Linked DNA regions of Homo sapiens: region 1 is linked to region 2. Evidence: promoter capture Hi-C in human tissues and cell types (Jung and others, 2019). All regions are on one chromosome and are shown on one strand. Each heading gives the region's core, a stretch centred on a gene start or on the middle of the fragment in contact. The rest is flanking DNA. Distances are from core to core; before and after follow the strand shown. Region 1 has its middle 38 kb from the start of RAVER2. Region 2 holds the start of AK4 (adenylate kinase 4).

Region 1 (3,637 bases), core at 909-3,408, 440 kb after region 2:
AAAGAAAAGAGGTTTAATTGGCTCACAGGAAGCATAGCTGGGGAGGCCTCAGGAAACTTTCAATCATGGTGGAAGGCAAAGGGGAAGCAGGTACAACTTACATGGCTGGAGCAGGAGGAAGCAAGTAAAGGGGGAGGTACTGTACAACACACTTTCAAACAACCAGATCTTGTGAGAACTCACTCACTATTATAAGAATAGCAAGGGGGAAATCTTCCCCATGATCCAATCACTTCCCACCAGGCCCCTCCTCCAACATTGCGGATTACAATTTGACATGAGATTTGGAGGCAGGGGGGGCACAAATCCAAACCATACCAGATAGTAAATATCCTTGTAAATAAATCTTGATGTACTTCTATAAGTATTACTTTTAGTCAATAAAAGGGGTACAAAAACATAAGATATTAGGGGTATCTGTAGTTTCAGGGCATTATAGTAAAAGCTTACTTGAACAACTGTTCTTACCACCATTTGTAAGCAGCATTCCTAACATAGACAAGAGGAATGTAGAATTTTAGAGCTATAATCACCATCTACCCAACCATTTCCTCTTTTTCATTTTCTGTTTGCAACCTGTCACTGGTAGACCATTACTCATTTTTTCTGCCCCTCCCACCTTTTCCCTGAGCCCCTCAAATATACCCCTATTTGTACATTTTCATCACACCTGCATGGGGTACCATCTTTCTGGTAACATATATGACACTGTGTTATAATTCTTTATGTGAGCTTGCCGGTTCCTGGAGGGCGAGGACTGTGTATCCTTGTGCTTTACATATTCAATATCTAGCACTGTGCTTGGTACATAGTACAATATATGATTAATACATCAGTGGGTCAACAAATGAATGAATGAATAACTAACTTGATTGGTCAATTACTTAACTTCCCACTGAAGACAAACATTTTTTCTGTAGGCTTTTCTTGAATACCTCTGAAGTTCTAATCTGTGGAGAAAATGATGAATCTTATTCATGATATAGTCATTTAGGTATCCAAATAAACACCGATTGTCTATTCTGTCTATTGTCTATTTCACTCCAGGCACTTTGATAGTTGCTGGATTCACACTCTTCAATGATTCCCACACAGCACACCTAGATTGCTGGGTGTCCAGGGGCCTCAATATTGACTCAATCCTGTATTAGTCAGGATTGTCCAGAGAAACAGAACCAATAGAATATCTTTATTTATTATAAGGAATTGGCTCACATGATAATGGAGGCTGACAAGTCCCCAAATCTGCAGGGTGATTTGACAAGCTGGAGACCCAGAAGAGCCAATGGTTTCGTTTCAGTCCAAGTTCAAAGACCTGAGAACTAAGCCGATGGTATAGCTCCAGTCCAGAGGCCAGAAAGCTCAAGACCCAGAAAGAGCCTATGCTTCAGTTTGAGTCTAAAGGCAGGAAAAATCTCAGTATCACAGTTCGAAGGCTGTCAGGCAGGAAGAATTTTCTGCTACTCAGAAGAGGACCAGGCTTTTTGTTCTAGTCAGTCTTTTAACGGATTGGCTGAGGCCCACTCACTTTATGGAAGGCTGTCTGCTTTACTCAGCCTCCCCGTTTCAATGTTAATCTCATCCAAAGCACCCTGACAGAAATACCCAGAATCATGGTTGACTAAATATCTGGGTATCCTGTGGCCCAGTTGACACACAAAATTAACGACTACACCTTCCAAACATGTTCTCTCCCCCACACGATGTTTAATATTATTGATATTCAGATGAAAATCTTTCCTTTTTCTTTAAAAAATTGACACCATCGATGGCAATAATAAGCTAAAATTAGCTGCCTTTGTTTATTAACCTCTGCAGGTTGTTAGACATTAATTCACTTATTCAAACTACTCTCTTGTGCTTAAGAATCAAGAAGCCTGTATTTGAGTTCCAGCCCTTGCCATCATCTAGCTTTGTGGCCTTGAGTAAAACCTTCAAGTATGTCAATTTCCTTATTTGTACGAATGCGGTGGGGAGATAATCTTCAAGTTCCTTCTAGCTCTAACATTCAGTCATGAAATTATCATTTCACAAATCAGAGGAATTAAAAAGAACCCACATATTGGGATGATGAAAAAGTTTTGGAAATAGTGATGGTGGTCGCACAACATTTTGGATGCACTTAATGCCACTGAATTGCACACTTAAAAATGGTTAAAGTAGGAAATTTTATGTTGTATATATTTTATGGTAATAAAAACATTTTAAAAAGTACCTACACAGGCCGGGTGCGGTGACTCACACCTGTAATCCCAGCACTTTGGGAGGCCGAGGTGAGTGGATCACTTGAGGCCAAGAATTTGAGACCAGCCTGGTGAGCATGGCAAAATCCCATCTCTACTAAAAATACAAAAAATTAGCTGGGCATCATGGCGTGAACCTGTAATCCCAGCTACCTGGGAGGCTGAGGCAGGAGAATTGCTTGAATCCAGGAGGCGAAGGTTCCAGTGAGCCAAGATTGCGCCACTGCACTCCAGCCTGGGCAACAGAGCACAACTTTGTCTCAAAAAAAAAAAAAGAAAAACAAAAGAAAAACAAGAAACAAAACAAAAAAAAGTACCCACATAGATTCAAACATTGTCCTCCAACATTGAGGATCAGCTATTTAATCCATTAATGAATGAGGCTTATGGGACAGTGAGAAATGGAGAAAATAGCCCACAGTGTAGCTTACGTGGATGGCTCTAGTTCAAAGGTACTCTGGCCCCAGTGGCCTCCCTCATACCCTTCTTATCTGGATGCTATTTCACTGTCTGCCCCAGCCTCCCCGAAGGCAGGGACTGCTTGAGTATCCAGGCTGTCCATGCCATCCATCCCTAACCCCAAAAAGGAAACTAGCAATTTCTAACTACCCTATCAATCTGGATCAAGTTGTGAAAGTATTCTATTTTCTCTCTTTGCTTTTCTTCCAGCTGAGAAAGGCTAGAGTCCTTAAAAACTGAAGTTAACTAAGAAGTGTTTGCAAAAAGCAAAAATAGTCTGAATTTAATTTTTCTTCATATTATTACTGCTGTGACTGTTGGTCTAAGTAATATTTATTGATTGCTTTTTAATGCCAGGTAATGTTGTTAATTTATGGATCCATTTAATCCTCATAACACCCTTCAAGTATTTTATATTTTAAACGTTATGATGAACTTGGTTGGAAGTTGTTATACTTTGTCAGGAATTCTAGTCATCAGCCTAGGAGGAAAAGTATCTATCTACCCTGTCCCTCTCCTCACCACTAGCATAGACACTGTCTGCTGAAATTCCACATTTGCATCCCAGTTTCTACAAGATATGAAAAGAGGATGCAATGAAAAGGCCATTGCCCTTTGGAGGCCAATAAAGAACTACAGCTGTAAGGCTGCCTCTTTTTCTCTTACATGTACATGCCCATTTGCTTTGTTTCTTTGCCCTTTCCAACTTTTCCATAATTAAAAGGCTGAATGGTATCCCTTTCCTATTAATCTATTCTGCTCCCCATCTCTGTAAACTGATTCCTGACATATGCTGATCAGTTAGCACAGTAAGTGACTCACAATTCCTCTCCTGTGTCCCCTTGGTGTGGCTGGCCATTCAGTACTCACAACTCATTCTTCAAAAATAAAACCCCTGCCAACTGCTCACGTTTAACAAATTTAACATATTCCTT
Region 2 (3,806 bases), core at 136-2,635:
CCATGATGGGCAATAACCAGCCCGGACATCCTTGAGAAGTACATCGACAGTAAAGGACCCCTGCTGGGAAGAACAACTTTTCATAAAGGAGTTGCTAATTACCAGCATCTCCATCCCAGAAGGGTTAAGAGCCTCGCAGCAGCACAACCGCTACCTCTCGCCTTTTAACGCCAATTCTTTCGGAACTGGTGTGAACGTGGAGTGGGAGGAGAGGGGGAAAGGGACGCACTCAACCCCGTCAGACTAAGAAATCAGGCGATCTATATATCCCCAAGTTCACCACGCCAGCCAAAGGAGGCATCTCATGCCAAGGGAGGCAGCTCAAGAAGCCATTTCCAGGAAAGCTGCATTACAAAATGTAATTTATCAGAACGAGTCTCCTCCGAGTCTCCTGACGGCCAGGCCCGGCGGCTTCGGGAGGGGGGGGAGTTGCTGGGGAGAGTTTACCTTAGAAGGCGACAACGAACAGACAGGCCTTTCAAAGCCACCCAGGGCTCTGCCCCGAGGCCCGAGGCTGCGTGGAGGGGCTGGAGAGGCGCGAGGCTGCGAGCCCCCCGGCGCCACAGGTTCCCCGGCGCGCGGCCCCGCCCGACTGCCACAGGTGGGCGGCGCTCCGCCTCTGGGCTCCCGCGGGAGGGGGCGCGCGGCTCTCTAGGGACTCGGGGGAGGGGGCCAGGGCTAAGGGGTACGGGGACGGCTCTGCCTTAAGGAGGGCAGCGTGAGACGGAAGCTCCGGGTTTTCCCTGCCTAGTTCTCGTTCCCTCGGCCGGGTGGCTCGGGCTATTCCTCGCGACAGGAGGAGCGGTGGAGAGGAGCCGTGGGCACCTCCCACCGGCCGCCCCTGGAGCCTCGGCCTCCTCCCCAGGCGCGGTTAAGCCGCGCGGCCGCCAGCTGCATGCGCCCCGGCACGTACGAGCCTGCACGACCACACGCGGGCGGGGGAAGGGCGCCGTGATCCGGGAGCCCCAGTCCCTCCAGGGCCTCACCCCAGCCCAACGCGGCTCGCCCCCGGCCCTCGTCCCCGCAGCCCCTCACCGGTGCTGGCCTTGATGTTCTCCCGCAAGAAGTGGCCGCTGGAGAGATGCTGGAGACCAAAGTTCTGGGCGATCCTCTGGCACACGGTGCCCTTGCCCGAGCCGGGCGGCCCGAGGATGACCGCGCGCAGGAGTTTGGAAGCCATTGCCTTCGCGAGGAGGGGGGCGGTCAAACGCGCAGCCCCGACCGCGGCCCCGGAGGAAGCCCCGGGAACTTTGTTTCTCGGCCCCCTACCTCTGGCACCCTCCGCTCTCACTGGGACTCGCCGGCCGCCCCTACAGGGGGAAGGAGAGACTTTTAAGACAACCCCTCCCCTCAGCCCAGCGCCGGGACCGAGTAGCAGGCGGACTGAGCGCCACGCTACACCTCCCCGCCCTTCTCCACCTCCTCGCCCTCCTCCACCTCCTCGCCCCCACGCAAAGCTGCTGAAGCGCGCCGTGCCCCGCCCTGCCGACTCGGCCTCCAGGGGTCAGAGGTCGGCCCGGCCAGTCCCACCTTCATCCTTAACTCCAGCTCGCTCCCCACGCCGCGTCCGAGAAGGGGGCCGGGCGGCCAGGCATCCCCAAGCCAGTCTCCGCCGAGCCGGGGAAGCTGGCACAAGCGGGGGTGACTCAAAGCCAGCCCCCGCCGCCCCACGCACCGGGCGGCCTAGGGGCTGAGCCCCTGCCCGGTCCTCGCACGTGGGCAACGTGTGGTCTGCGTCTCGTCCCCTCCCCGGCGGCTGTCACATCCCCCGGAGTCTCAGCTGCCGCCGCTGCCCGCCGCCCGCGCGCGCTCGGAGGGGCCCACCTCCGCCCGGGGTTGGCGGATGCGCTCCCCGGCCATGGGGCGCGCGACGAGCCCGAGCCCCGCGCCTCGCCACCAAAAGCAATCAAATAAACACACACCTTGGCTGGAGGCAGCACTCCGAGAGGCTTCCAGCCCGGATCCTGCAGGGCGGCGCCGCCTCCGCCCGCCCAGTCGCGGAGCCCCGGCCGGCCGCGCGGGACTCGCGCCTTACGTAAGCCCGGGAGACCGGCTCCGCGCGAGCCGCTGGCCGCCGCCCCCTCCCCTCCACTCCACTCCACTCCCACCCAGCCTGCCTGGCCCACGTGCTCCCTGCGACCCAGCGAGGGCTGCGGGGGCGAAGCGAGGTGCAGACCACGCGAGGTAGAGAAACCCCTTTTTTTCTTTCGCGGTCGCCTGGGGACCGCGGTCTACTGCAAGGGAAGGGAAAAATACAACTTGTTGAGCGCCTACTGTGCGCCAAGTTTGCGGCTAGGTGATTTCATTGTGTTTACAGCCGAGGAATGGAGCGTGACCATTCATTCATTGATTCATTCTGCAAATGTTTATTGAGTGCCTACTGTGTGCCAGAAACTATTCTAGGCGCTTAGGATCTAGCCGTGAACAACAGATCGAATCCTGCTCTCAAGAAATTGCGTCCTAGCGGGAGGCTGGAACCCAAGACTGACTGACTCCAAAGTCTAGGCGCCTTAGGGAACAGGGAAGAAGGGGATGTCCCTCACCTGTGTTCAGGACCTTCTTGGTAAATGATTCCAGGACTTCCATGCGCATTATGCTGGTGCTGCACCTATAACTCACCAAGTCCAAATGGAGTCTGTCTTCCCCCACTCCACCCTCCCCTGCATATCCCAATCCACATTCTGTTAGATCTGTGCCCACCTTACACACAGCCTTTAATTTCCCACCCCAACTAGTGGGATAAGTGCCCATAAGACTCCAGTTTCTGTGCCATTCCATTTTCCGTGCAGCTGCCAGGAATACTGATAAAGTGAAAATCAATATTTATTATTTCCCGGCCTCAGATATTGTCTTCCCTTCAGGATAAAGTGAAAAATCTTCAGCAGGGGCGCAGAGATGCCTTCCGTACACCTTTGCATTCTGCAGGCCCCCTCCTCTGCCTTCCTTCCACAGGCCACCTGCCTTCAGGAAATCTGTTGCAGAGTTCCCAGCACCAATACCCAGGACTCAGAGAAGGTGAGGGACACAAGTAGTGGGATGGTGTGGAGAAGAACCCCCTCTCAGCTCTTTGATTGGGGTTGGTGGAGGGCAGGGCCTGGCATAGTTTCCTGACACCCAGCGCCTCTCCCCACTGCTTACTCCACGCACAAAATTGGCCAGACAGCACACCCAGGCCACCAGCCCCAGGCCAGCATTTGTTCCATAGACTGATCTCCCTCTAAAATGTCTCAGTGTGGCCGGGCGCTGTGGCTCACACCCGTAATCCCAGCACTTTGGGAGGCCAAGGCAGACGGATCACTTGAGGCCAGGAGTATGAGACCAGCCTGTCTAACATGGTGAAACTCCGTCTCTACTAAAAATAGAATGATTAGCCAGGTGTGGTGGTGCACGCCTGTAATCCCAACTACTCCAGAGGCTGAGGCAAGAGAATCACTTGAACCTGGGAGGTGGAGGTTGCAGTGAGCTGAGATCACGCCACTGCACTCCAGCCTCGGAAACAGGGCGAGACTCTGTCTCAAATAAATGATAAATAAATAAATAAATAAATAAATCTCAGTGTGCTGTAGACCTGATACTGAGCCCCTTCAAACCTTTTCTGGGAACAAAGAGGAAGAACTTGCGGGTCTGGGGGTGGGGGTATATGTGTATAATATGTAGCAGATACTTCTTTGGAGTGGCTCTCAGAAGTGAGCATGCATCAGAATCACCTGGAAGGCATGTTGAAACGTGTTGCTGAGCTCCCCCTGCATAGTGCCACGCACGTCCATGTGAAGAGACCACCAAACAGGCTTTGTGTGAGCAATAAG

What was found. The method cuts DNA at HindIII sites, captures the fragments that hold promoters and counts their contacts. A contact is called where the count stands out against the background at its distance.
Region 1: a contact is called between a fragment that was not itself captured here and the fragment with the promoter of AK4 in region 2, in 1 of the 25 tissues and cell types used here (H1 embryonic stem cells).

Annotation. Positions count from the first base shown.
Region 1 is chr1:64,705,711-64,709,347 of GRCh38, reverse strand. No RefSeq gene overlaps it. Among named protein-coding and RNA genes, the nearest start is that of RAVER2, 38 kb to the left of the region's middle. The HindIII fragment of the contact is 5,055 bases long and covers 1-3,637 here.
Region 2 is chr1:65,145,782-65,149,587 of GRCh38, reverse strand. AK4 (adenylate kinase 4) reads right to left here and starts at 1,385. Exons shown (of 5, transcript NM_013410.4): 1 at 1,036-1,385. The coding sequence starts at 1,180. RefSeq lists enhancers at 1-136, 137-855 and silencers at 449-728, 789-1,088, 1,469-1,968, 1,979-2,218. The HindIII fragment of the contact is 12,604 bases long and covers 1-3,806 here.